Linked DNA regions of Homo sapiens: all the other regions are linked to region 2. Evidence: promoter capture Hi-C in 16 types of primary human blood cells and fetal thymus (Javierre and others, 2016). All regions are on one chromosome and are shown on one strand. Each heading gives the region's core, a stretch centred on a gene start or on the middle of the fragment in contact. The rest is flanking DNA. Distances are from core to core; before and after follow the strand shown. Region 1 overlaps KLHDC2 (kelch domain containing 2). Region 2 holds the start of POLE2 (DNA polymerase epsilon 2, accessory subunit). Region 3 overlaps NEMF (nuclear export mediator factor).

Evidence for each region. Contacts are between HindIII fragments. The CHiCAGO score rates a contact against its expected background, and 5 or more counts as called.
Region 1: a contact is called between a fragment that was not itself captured here and the fragment with the promoter of POLE2 in region 2, in 2 of 17 cell types (megakaryocytes and erythroblasts). The highest score is 10.1, in megakaryocytes.
Region 3: a contact is called between a fragment that was not itself captured here and the fragment with the promoter of POLE2 in region 2, in 2 of 17 cell types (erythroblasts and megakaryocytes). The highest score is 6.3, in erythroblasts.

Annotation. Positions count from the first base shown.
Region 1 is chr14:49,779,738-49,783,940 of GRCh38, reverse strand. KLHDC2 (kelch domain containing 2) reads right to left here. Exons shown (of 13, transcript NM_014315.3): 8 at 4,135-4,193; 9 at 3,619-3,728; 10 at 3,166-3,238; 11 at 1,484-1,571; 12 at 1,347-1,399; 13 at 1-1,111. The coding sequence ends at 988. It overlaps NEMF (nuclear export mediator factor), which reads left to right. Exons shown (of 33, transcript NM_004713.6): 33 at 1-1,858. Among named protein-coding and RNA genes, the nearest start is that of KLHDC2, 14 kb to the right of the region's middle. The HindIII fragment of the contact is 1,037 bases long and covers 1,108-2,144 here.
Region 2 is chr14:49,686,210-49,690,340 of GRCh38, reverse strand. POLE2 (DNA polymerase epsilon 2, accessory subunit) reads left to right here and starts at 2,127. Exons shown (of 19, transcript NM_002692.4): 1 at 2,127-2,205. The coding sequence starts at 2,138. RefSeq lists a silencer at 2,015-2,064 and enhancers at 1,369-2,128, 2,129-2,890. The HindIII fragment of the contact is 3,892 bases long and covers 1-3,591 here.
Region 3 is chr14:49,802,440-49,806,215 of GRCh38, reverse strand. NEMF (nuclear export mediator factor) reads left to right here. Exons shown (of 33, transcript NM_004713.6): 19 at 83-195; 20 at 2,922-2,979; 21 at 3,489-3,547; 22 at 3,643-3,763. Among named protein-coding and RNA genes, the nearest start is that of KLHDC2, 36 kb to the right of the region's middle. The HindIII fragment of the contact is 3,414 bases long and covers 1-2,967 here.

The DNA of each region.
Region 1 (4,203 bases), core at 377-2,876, 94 kb before region 2:
GGGTTTAAATATTTAGGATTGTGTCTTGAAAACTAAGTATTGGAGTGGATTTTCTTCTGCTTTCATTGATACTTGTCAGAAAAAAATATTAGACCAAAATGTAAAATATAAGTAATAATTCTCATGACTCAGCTTAATCATTTCTATTCATTTGTAGACCTTCAGGTTTGATCTTAATTTTTTCCTTGTAATCTGATTCAGTTCTGTACCATTTTAATTTCCACCTTTAGTAATTAATTACCAATATAGCACGTTAGAGTATCTTAACCTATAATACCAGAAGCGCATTTTAGGCTTACCACTAAAGACTCTAACCCACTTTTCCTCTGTCTCTTAACAGAATGGAAAATGATGTCATCATTATTTCCATTCCTTCATGAGCTATAAAACCTATTAATTAAAAAAAAACTTTTTAATTGACTGGACAGCACCTGCCTGTATTCAGCATGACCACTTGCTCCAGCCCCTACACTGAAGCATTAAGGTCAAAGTACTGAACAGTTGTTGGTCCCTCCACACTTTGTTTTTCCAGCTTCGTCATAATGTGAATATTAATGTTTAAAAAAAAAAACCTTTATTATATTGTATTTACAACACTAGGTTACATAACTATAGACTACTCTTGCCATTAAAAAAAAAAAAATCTATAATGTTTTCAAAAAATGACTTCAGCATTTTGATGATGGTAAGACTATAATGTTTCTACAGATACATATCCTGAAGTTACTGAAAAGAAAATGTAGCAACCATTCTTCAGGGTAAAAAGCCCAACCATTACTTTACTTTAATAGAGGACAGCTACTGGTGTTAAATACATTTATTGTAAACTTTAGACACAAAAATAGGTTCTCTAGGCCATTCACATGCACATTAAAACCAACAGGTGCAAACTACAACAATGCATATAATTATACAAATGATGCCACTCTGTGATGTTTACAGGATTGCTGTCCATGCAAGGTGATCATAGGCATTATTTATGAAGCCTTAAGATCCAGAAGTGTTGTTACTACCAAACCTCTGATTAACACTGTGAAGTAAGTGTTTTGGAAGGCAGTTCCATGAGTTGGCTAACATTTCTTTAAAGCAAATGACTGCTTCTAAGCTTAGCCTGAAAGTGGACAAGGAAAGAGAAAAGTAATTTCACTTTACTGTTTGGAAGTACATTCACTTGAAAAACTACATAAAACATCCCTCTTTCTTTCTTCAAAGATTTTCATAGGAACTGGTTATAGCAATGAAGTTTTATTGCCCTTAAATAATCCATAAACCTAGTTTTTCGAGAGTGCTAAGTCTTAGGAAACACAATTTTAAATAATCTAAGTGCCAAGTACAAAGTTACTTACCGTACAAGAGATTTTGGTTGAACTGAAAATATTAGTATTTCATTACTGTGTGCCTGAAAAATAAATAGGAAGAACACATTTAAAAGCAAATGCTTTGCAAGTAAGTTTCAGTAATAATGTGAAGGTAGTATACTTACAGCTCTGTGATGGACAAGCAAGTTGTTGGCACATCCACCAAAAACAATTACTTCTCCTTCATCGCTGGCACAAGCTGTGTGCCATAACCTGCATTTAAAACAAAAACGAGTTTGAAGCCACCCAGAACACCAGTTGGCCATTTTATACTACAGAATAGAGCTATGAAATAAAGACTAGCGATCTTAAGGTAGTTCAGACCAAAACATCATGGCGAGAAGTAAAATCTTAAGGGAAAGTAGCAAAAGCAGATCAATCAATATCTATTTTATCTGGATATTATTTTCTCTCTCTGGTCGTTCTCATTTATGCAATGAGGAGTTTGAACTGAACGATCTGTTCTCTAGGTCTTTGTTAGCAATAAAAATCGTATGGGAGCTGAGTAGTATATGCCTTCTTCTTCCATAGGTAGGGCCAACTGGCCTTACACAGAACGTCTGAGGGATGGTGAAAGCCCTGCTTGAGTAAACTATAAAGTCTCAGAAAGCCTGGTAGTTTTATGGAGAGATCATTTGTGCAAATGAAGTCTTACTTGCATGACTATACTTGGTTTAGATACTTGGGGAAAAAATGCAGGCTTTGAACATGAATTTTGACTGTATCATTTCCTTTAGCATTTTGTTCTGAGATTAACAAGAGAAAATTATCAGTGTTTAATAAGCTTTTTTTGGATGATTTGATTTCTTCATCTTTGTTATACAGTGCTACTGCAAGTCTAATTGACAGTTCTTGTTTTTTCCCCATGTATTTTTTTTTTTTTTAAGAGACAGAGTCTTGCTCTATCACCCAGGCTGGAGTGCAGTGGTGCAATCTCAGCTCACTACATCCTCTGCCTCCTGAATAGCTGGGACTACAGGCATATGCTACCACACCTAGCTAATTTTTCTATTATTTGTAGAGATGGGGTTTTGCCAAGTTGCCCAAGCTGGTCTTGAATGCCTGGGTTAAAGCACTCTGCCTGCCTCAGCCTCCAGAAGTGCTGGGATTACAGCTGTAATCCTGTAATCCCACTGTACCTCGCCTCCCATGTGATTAAGGTTTAAACATTTTACCCATTCCAGCACCTCTACCCCCTTTTTTTTTTTTTTTTGAGACAGAGTTTCACTCTTGTTGCCCAAGCTGGAGTGCAAAGGCACGATCTCAGCTCACTGCAACCTCTGCCTTCCTGGTTCAGGCAATTGTCCTGCCTCAGCCTCTCAAGTAGCTGGGATTATACAGGCATACGCCACCACGCCCAGCTAATTTTGCATTTTTACTAGAGACGGGGTTTCACCATGTTGGCCAGGCTGGAACTCCTGACCTCAGGTGATCCACCTGCCTCAGCCTCCTAAAGTGCTGGGATTACCGGCATGAGCCACCACGCCTGGCCGACCCTCATTTTTAATAAACTTAGATGCAGTTCAACTCATTGAAGTGAAAAGCTTGATTGTATATTTTAACTATGTGTCAATTTTATAACAGAAGGAAGAAGCAAAAATAAAAATCCAGCCCTACTCTTCATGCACAGATGACGGAAAGGAGATCATTCGATACTAGGATAACATTGGTTTTCTTTTCTTTGAGAAGTATTTCAAACCTTAGTGAATGCTGAGATTTTTATAAATAAGAATGCTGGATATAATGCAGCCAAAACCTCAATTCTTATGTCTTATGCATATTCAGTATATGAATTGCTTTTAAATACCTTGGTTTTTCGGTATATGGATGATTAAATTGTATCCATTCATTTTTACTGATGCAGTAAGTCCAGGCATCACCTGATTCAAGCAAAGAAATGAAGTATGTTAGTCTGTCAATATGACATTGACATTTAAAGGGCACAGCTTTGGCAAGAAAGGTAATAGATCATGAGCAGATACAGAGAGTATATTTTCTTTTTTTTCCCCCCCCTGCAATTAGCCAAGTAAGCCCTTTGCATGTTGTAGCCCTTCAGCAGGGCTCTTAAGTGCTCCAGGTTCTTTATTGAACAGAAGTATGCCATATAGTACAATTACAGCTATGTTACAGGATCAAAATTAATTTCAAACCTTCCAACCAACCCTATAAGCCGTCTCATCAGTCTCTAATAGACTCATTTTCAGCTATTAGATATGGATGATATATGATGATTTCATTATCATATTTTTCAAGGACTTACTTAGTGGCTGTTTATCAGTGGTAAATCCTCCAAAGAGAAAAAGATGATCTGAAGAAACTGGTGTTAGTGAGTGCCAAGATCGACCAACTGGGCATATGCCTTGTGGAATTCTGAAAATAATAGCTAAGTTACAATATCTGCATTTAGAAGCAGCTACTGTATTTTTAAGTTTTCTTTTAAAATTTATATGTACATGTTATGAAAAAAGAGACCTTAAGTTTAAAAAGGCTTCTTGGTATAAACTACATGCTTTATACTGAAATATTTTCTTTGACGTTAGAATCAACTTCAGACCTTTTCCTTTCAACAAACACTGAGCACATGCTATGTACTAGGCACATAGTTACAGGAACTGGAAACACAAAAATAAAATTCATTCCTTAAGGACCTAGTAATTATGTTTATTTAATTTCATAGTTAAAGAAAAGTTAAGCAAGGACATTATATACCAATAGTAGGGAATATAGGGTAAAAACAATCTGAATTTTGGAAAAATGTATCTAAAGTGATACCTACAATTCATTCCACTCCCATGTATCCAGATTAAGATAGTGAAGATCATTCATTCTAGCATCCTAAAAAAGG
Region 2 (4,131 bases), core at 878-3,377:
TGAACCCGGGAGGCGGAGCTTGCAGTGAGTCGAGATCGCGCCACTGCACTCCAGCCTGGGCGACAGAGCGAAACTCCGTCTCAAAAAAAAAAAAAAAAAAAAAACAAAACAAGGTTATATGTTGATCAGTTGATGAAAACATTGTCACCAGAGGCTCACAGGAACCTAATTCTGTACTTCCCCTAGTAGGAATGGTTTAGTATTCAATAATTATTTGTTGGTGGCTACTTATAAAATCTAACTATCACAGGTACAGTAATGAGAATTAACTATATGTCTTTCTATTCGTATTTCCTATCCTTTCTTACATAAAAATTAAAAATTTCTTTGTACTTTTTGTCTTTGAAAAATATTTCACTAAATAAAGAGAACTGTGTTCAAAAATCACTTGTGATGTTATGTTACCAATTTAATATACAATTAGGTGTATTAGTTTTAGTATGCATTCAATTTTAAGCTCACCTTTTTATTTTCTATTTTTTGAATATGTAAAACATGCACATGGATTAAAAGTCTCACTGTAAAGAAAGTTTTCACTTTCATCCCTATCCCCTCACCCCTTTGTAGTTAACCATTTTTGTGGTCTCTGATTTAACCTTCCAGAGTTGTTTTGTTGTTGTTGTTGCTGTTGTTTTGAGACAGAGTCTCACTCTTGTTGCCTAGGCTGGAGTGTAATGGCCCCATCTCGGCTCACCGCAACCTCTGTCTCCCGGGTTCAGACAATTCTCCTGCCTCAGCCTCCCGAGTAGCTGGGATTACAGGCATGCGCCACCATGCCTGGCTAATTTTTTTGTATTTTTGTAGAGACGGGGTTTCTCCATGTTGGTCAGGCTGGTCTCGAACTCCTGACCTCAGATGATCCGCCCACCTCGGCCTCCCAAAGTGCTGGGATTACAGGCGTGAACCACTGCGCCCGGCTTTTTTTGTTTTTGAGACAGAGCCTTGCTTTGTTGCCCAGGCTGGAGTGGTGGCACGATCTCGGCTCACTGCACCCTCCGCCTCCGAGGCTCAAGAGATTCTCCTGCCTCAACCTCCCCAGGAGCTGGGATTACAGGCGCGCGCCACCACGCCTGGCTAATTTTTTTTTTTTTTTTTTTTTTTTGGTAGAGACGGGGTTTCACCATGTTGGCCCGGCTGTTCTCGAACTCTTGGCCTCAAGTGATCTGCCAGCATCGGCCTCCCAAAGTTCTGGGATTACAGATGTGAGCCACCGCGCCCGGGCCCAGAGGTTTTTAAAATGCAAAAACAAATACATATACTTTTGTTTCCCTTCCTTCATTAAACTTCGCTTTTTTTTAAAAAAGAAAAAAACCCGTATACGTTGGAGGTCACTTTATATTGGTACTGTGAAATCATCCTCCTGTTTTATAAGCCGCGTGTTTACTTATAAGCACTCCACGGGTTAGTCAACTCATTGGAGCAAGCGTTTTGAAGTGTGGCAGATTGACAGTCCACCTGAAATCAGAATAACTGAGTTCAAATCCTGACTACACCATTTAACTCGTCGTTTCATCTTGAGCAAGTCCTTTACCATTTTTGTGTCTCAGTTTTCTCATCTGTAAAATGAGGCTGTTGTGGAAAAGACAGTAGACAGCTCACTGGGCTGTCATGAGCAACACATGAATTCACACATTTAAAGTGCTTATGACAGTGCATGGCGCATACGAAGCCCTCAAGTTAAATAAAAATCGGGGTAGGTGGGAGCGATGGAGATTTATAACAGCTTCCGGTAAATGTCGAGGCACAGTATTTCCAGAGCTTGTGCGAAGTAGGGAACCCAACAGCTCTCATGGCCTCGAAAGAAGGGGGATCCTGTGTCCGGGAAGCTCGGCCGCAGTCCTGCAATGTCTAGGGCAGCGGTGAGAGCGCTGTGGCTGGCTCAACGCAGCCCGACACCAGGGAAGACGCTCTGGCCCTCAGTTTCCCGGCAGCAAAGGAGCGCGAGGTGGTCTCCACTTTCAGCCTACTCGGTCCGGGGTTGCGAACTGTAAGGTCTGAGTTGCTGCGGCGCAGGCAGCGGAGACCAAGCAGGGATCTTAACAGGGTTTAGCGCCACGCGGGCCAGGGCCGAGGCCGGAGCTGGGAGGGGCGCGCCCGGGAAGGGGCGGAGCTGCGGCGGTGGCGCCAAATCGCAAATATGGCGCCGGAGCGGCTGCGGAGCCGGGCGCTCTCCGCCTTCAAGTTGCGGGGCTTGCTGCTCCGTGGGTGAGTGGGCTCGGGCAGCTTGAAGGGCGAGAGGGAAGAGCTGGGGCCCGTCTGCCTGGTGCGGCAGCGGGACGCACCGCGGCGGCTCCCCGCGCGCCGAGAGGGGGCTTGACCTTAAATTTCAGAGTTCTAAGAAGCGGTCGGGCGCGGTGGCTCACGCTTGTAATCCCAGCACTTTGGGAGGTCGAGGCGGGCGGATCACGAGGTCAGGAGATCGAGACCATCCTGGCCAACATGGTGAAGCCCCGTCTCTACTAAAAATACAAAAATTAGCTGGGCGTGGTGGCGCGCGCTTGTAGTCCCAGTTAGTTGGGAGGCTGAGGCAGGAGAATCGCTTGAACCCGGGAGGAGGAGGTTGCGGTGAGCCGATATCGTGCCACTCTACTCCATCCTGGCGACAGAGAGAGACTCCATTAAAAAAAAGTTCTAAGAAGCGAGGTGGATCTTGAGGCTGCCGTGCCTTCTTTGGTTTCCCCGACCCATGCGAGGAGTTTAATGTTTCTTCTAGGCGGGCCGAGGCTCTTCTGCACATGTCAAACTGAGCCCGAGAAGCTGCAACCTATCTATGGCAGCCGGTTATCAACATTGTGACCTGGACAGCTCTCAGGCTCCCGGGAAGGTTGCTGAGACATAAGATGAGAGACCCGAGAAAGCCCACTTGCACGTCTGCAGTTGCCAATTTATGTGAAAGTCAGGTTTCCTGGGCATATCCGTGTTTTTGAGGACCTATAGAACATATGAACCTTCCCAAGATTTCTCTCATTAAATCTGCTCCGTGTTTTAGAGTTCTATATGTACGTGTGTGTGTGTGTGTGTGTGTGTGTGTGTGTGTGTGGTGTGTGTGTATATATATATATGTATTTTTTTTTTTTTGAGTCATGGTCTCACTCTCGCCCAAGCTGGAGGGCAGTGATGCGAACTTGACTTACTGCAGCCTCAACCTCCTGGGCTGAAGTAGCTGGGACTGCAGGCATGGGCCACCATACCTGGCTGATTTTTTGTTGTTGTATGTTTTTTAGAGACGGGGTCTGGCTATGTTGCCCAGGCTGGTCTTGAACTCCTGGGCTCAAGTAGTCCTCGCGCCGTGGCCTCCCAGAATGCTGGAATTACAGGCGTGAACCACTGCGCCTGACCTAGAACACAATATTTTATACATATTGAAATACCTGCTGGATTGGATATACCTCTCTGTATCAGTTTTTATTGCTTTTGTGTGTGTAGATTTTTGGTTGGTTTTGTGAGTTTTATGGGACTTTTAACTGTGCTTTGGGAGATGCCTTGGGAGAAAATAATGAATTTTGTTCAATTGGTCCTTGACATTTTGAAAGCATGAGGAACTGATGAATTAACTTTCTTTTCGCTTAGAATTTGACCTAATATTAAGCTTTTGTTCATTAATTATTTCAGTCATAAGTATACTTAAATCTGTTAGCTGCAAAGCACCGTGCTGGGGTAAGGGGGTGCAATAGAGAGCAAGAGCTTTGTAGGGGGCAGATAATGTATTCTATTGCTGCGTGACAAATTACCCCACAATTTAAAGGCTAAAACAGTACACATTATCTCAAATTTTCTGTGGGTTAGGAATTCAGGTGTGGCTTAGTTGGGTCCTCAACTTCAGGGTCTTTTCACAAGGTTGCAGTCAAGATGGATCATCTCAAATGTTGTCCAGACAGCATTCGCTTCAAGCTCATTCAGTTGTTGGCAGGATTCAGTTCCTGATTGCCTGGCAGGCTGTTGGCTGGAGGCTATCCTCAGTCCCTTGCCATGTGTGCCCCCAACATGGCTTCATCAAGAGAGAGAGTCTTCTAGTAACTCTGAGGCAACCTAATCAAGGAGGTGACATCTTGTTATTTTTAAATTTTTTTTACTTTTAAATTTTACTTTCAAAATTATAATACAGTAAGTTATTCTATCCCTTTTGCTATA
Region 3 (3,776 bases), core at 11-2,510, 120 kb before region 2:
GTCATGCGGCATGTGATTTTCATATCTTGCTCTGGAGAAAGTCCATACTTTGGTATTGAAACATTATGCATTGTTATTCTAGGAGAACCCATCCCCCCACGGACCTTGACTGAAGCTGGCACAATGGCACTTTGCTACAGTGCTGCTTGGGATGCACGAGTTATCACTAGTGCTTGGTGGGTGTACCATCATCAGGTAATAAGGGCTCTTGTCCTTTTTCTTAATTTACTAAGAGCTACTGTGTGCCAAATTTTGAGAGTATAGAAGTAAATAAAGCAGACAAGGCTCAATAGAGCTAACTCTTTTTGGTAGAGGAAAATATGTACATAATGTCAGGTAATAAGTGCCATAAAATAGTGTTTTTAAAAGCATGGAAGGGGATAGAGAGTGATAGGGGATACCGTTTTGGATGAAGTATTGGGGGAACCTTTCTAGGAAGGTAGGATTTGAGCAGAGAGGTAAATGAAGAGAGAGTGATCCACACAATTATACAGGATAAAGAGTGTTCCAGTTATTATTGATTATTATTGGCATACTGACCTAAAAGGCCTTTCTTCTGTTCATCTTTGTTGGAATATTCTGAATTCTCTTGGGCACTTCCAGAAAAGTAGGCATATCCTGTTTGTTTTTTTTTTTAAATTCACTTGTTTTTATTAATTGCCCTTCTTTGTGGTTAATGATGTTGTTGGGGTTTTTTTGCATTTTTTTTTTTCTTTATAGAGATGAGGTTTCACCATGTTGGCCAAGCTGGTCTCGAATTCCTGACCTTAAGTGGTCCTCTTGCTTCAGCCTCCCAAAATGCTGAGATTACAGGCATGAGCCATGGTGCCTGGCCAGTGCTGTTGAGTTTGGTGATACTTCATTCTATATTTGACCTCACATTGCTATTGATTTCTTATCATACTTTTGAGAATTATAATTGATGATGATGTACTTTTATAAGTTCCTAAAGCTGTACAGTAGGATAAAAAGAATTCAGTTTCATTATACTCCCTTAGATTTAGTTTCATTTTTATATCTTTTTATATTATATGCTGTGCTGTGATATTGTCATATAGGGGGATTATAAATTGCTACCTCAGTGCTGTTATAAAAGTGGTTTTAATTCTTTCATTAAGAAATTTTTTAGAATGAAATTTAGTGTTTTTAATCCCTTGCTGGTTTTTTGTGTTTGTTTGTTCGTTTTGAGATGGAGTCTTGCTCTGTTGTCCAGGCTGGAGTGTAGTGGTGCAATCTTAGCTCACTGCAGCCTCCGCCTCCTGGGTTCAAGCGATTCTCCTGCCTCTGCCTCCTGAGTAGCTGGGACTACAGGAGTGTCCCACCATACCTGGCTACTTTTTCTATTTTTGTAGAGATGGGGTTTTGCCATGTTGGCCAGGCCAGTCTCAAACTCCTGGCCTCAAGTGATCCTCCTGCTTCCGCCTCCCAAAATGCTGGGATTACAGGCATGAGCTAGCACACTTGGCCCCTTGCTATTTTAATAACTATGACTAATAAAGATACTCTCAAGATTTGGGGGTTTCACAGATGTATAAATTTTTTTTTTTTATGAGATGGAATGTTGCTCTGTCACCCAGGCTAGAATGCAATGGCGTGATCTCGGCTCACTGCAACCTCTGCCTCCTGGGTTCAAGCAATTCTCTGCTTCAACCTCCCGAGTAGCTGGGATTATAGGCACCCACCACCACGCCTGGCTAATTTTAGTAGAGACAGGGTTTCACCATCTTAGCCAGGCTGGTCTTGAACTCCTGACCTCACAATCCACCTGCCTTGGCCTCCCAGAGTGCTGGGATTACAGGTGTGAGCCACTGTACCTGGCCCCAAAATTTTTTTAAATTATGGGATAAGTTTACTCACTTTCTGTTTTGCCAAAATAGGATATATTTTTAAAAATCTGCTATTTCATATAGACAAAGGTTACTTTTGCCTCATGCCTGTAATCCCAGCACTTTGGAAGGCCAAGGTGGGCAGATCATGAAGTCAGGAGTTCAAGGCCAGCCTGGCCAATATGGTGAAACCCCGTCTCTACTAAAAAATACAAAAATTAGCCGGGCGTGGTGGTGCGCACCTGTAATCCCAGGTACCTGGGAGGCTGAGGCAGGAGAATCTCTGGAACCTGGGAGGTGGAGATTGCAGTGAGCCAAGATCAAGCCACTGCACTCCAGCCTGGGTGACAGTGTGAGACTCTGTCTCAAAAAAAAAAAAAAGGCAAAACTTTATTATCAAAAACAGTATCTTAGACAAGGATTTTATTTAATAAATAGAGCTTTATTTTAGTAAACATAGCTTTATGATAAGCTCATTAACCTATCCTTAGTTTTCTCATTACATCTCATGCTGGAAGAGATGAGTGGACCAGTTCTGGCTGTCGTCCATGGCATTTGAAAATTATTGCCGGGCATAGTGGCTCACGCCTGTAATCCCAGCACTTTGGGAGGCCGAGGCAGGCGGATCATGAGGTTAGGAGTTCAAGACCAGCCTGGCCAACATAGTGAAACCCCGTCTCTACTAAAAATACAAAAATCAGCTGGGCATGGTGGTGCGTGCCTGTAGTCCCAGCTACTCAGGAGGCTGAGGCAGGAGAATCACTTCAACCAAGGAGGTGGAGGTTACAGTGAGCCGAGATTGTGCCACTGCACTTCAGCTTGGGCAACAGAGTGAGACTTCATCTCAAAAAAAAAAAAAAAGAAAGAAAATTATTGATGTAGTGGATTCTTTGTTTTTTTCTTTGTTACTTCCAAAGGCTTATCTGTCATTAAAGGGGTATCTTTCCCTTTAGTATTGAGAATTTGTACGAAATTATAAACTTTTCAGAAGACAGTGTGGCTTACTTGACTCTGACTTTACTTTCTCCTCAAGTGGAAAAAGAAAACTAGAGTATTTTTTTAAATAAGAATATAATGTATTATTGTGTTCTTCAGGTATCTAAAACAGCACCAACTGGAGAATATTTGACAACAGGAAGCTTCATGATAAGAGGTAATGTCTTGACAGGAAAAATATCACTAGACTTGTCAATGGATTATGGAGACAGGTTTGAGACAGTTTACAAATACTCTTAGAACAAAAACAAATTACTCGGATTTCCTATGTGAAGTCTGCTATGAAGTAAAGAAATTTTTGCCTTGGTGTGACAAGTTTAGTGTTTGTCATATCTTCTTCATGTATATTTTTATTGAGGGCAGTGCACTTTCACATAGTTTAGTTATAAGGGTAAGAAAGGATAGCCTGAACTTATTTCTGAAAATAGAATATTCAGGGTCTGACTGACCCAGAATATCAGAGCAAGTGTGTATATTTTTTACTTCTTAATAACTGTTCCTATACATACTGCCCAGTTCTATAAATGGGAAATGTTATTCTTGACATAGTAAAAGACAAAATGGATATGACCATTAGTGTCATCTGACACTAATTTTTTTTTGTTTTACAAGCAAAAAATGGAGAAGACTGATTTTCAAAGCATTAATGTACGTTATCTTTTGTAGGAAAAAAGAATTTTCTTCCTCCCTCATATCTAATGATGGGGTTTAGCTTCCTTTTTAAGGTACTCTTCAACTTCTTGGTTATTTATTTGTTTTTTTCCTGATTTTCATTAGTCTTGTCTGAAGCTCCGTCACTGAAAAATAACTGTTTCTTTAGGTAGATGAGTCTTGTGTTTGGAGACATCAGGGTGAACGAAAAGTCAGAGTACAGGATGAAGACATGGAGACACTGGCAAGTTGTACAAGTGAACTCATATCAGAAGAAATGGAACAATTAGGTAGTTTATAGAT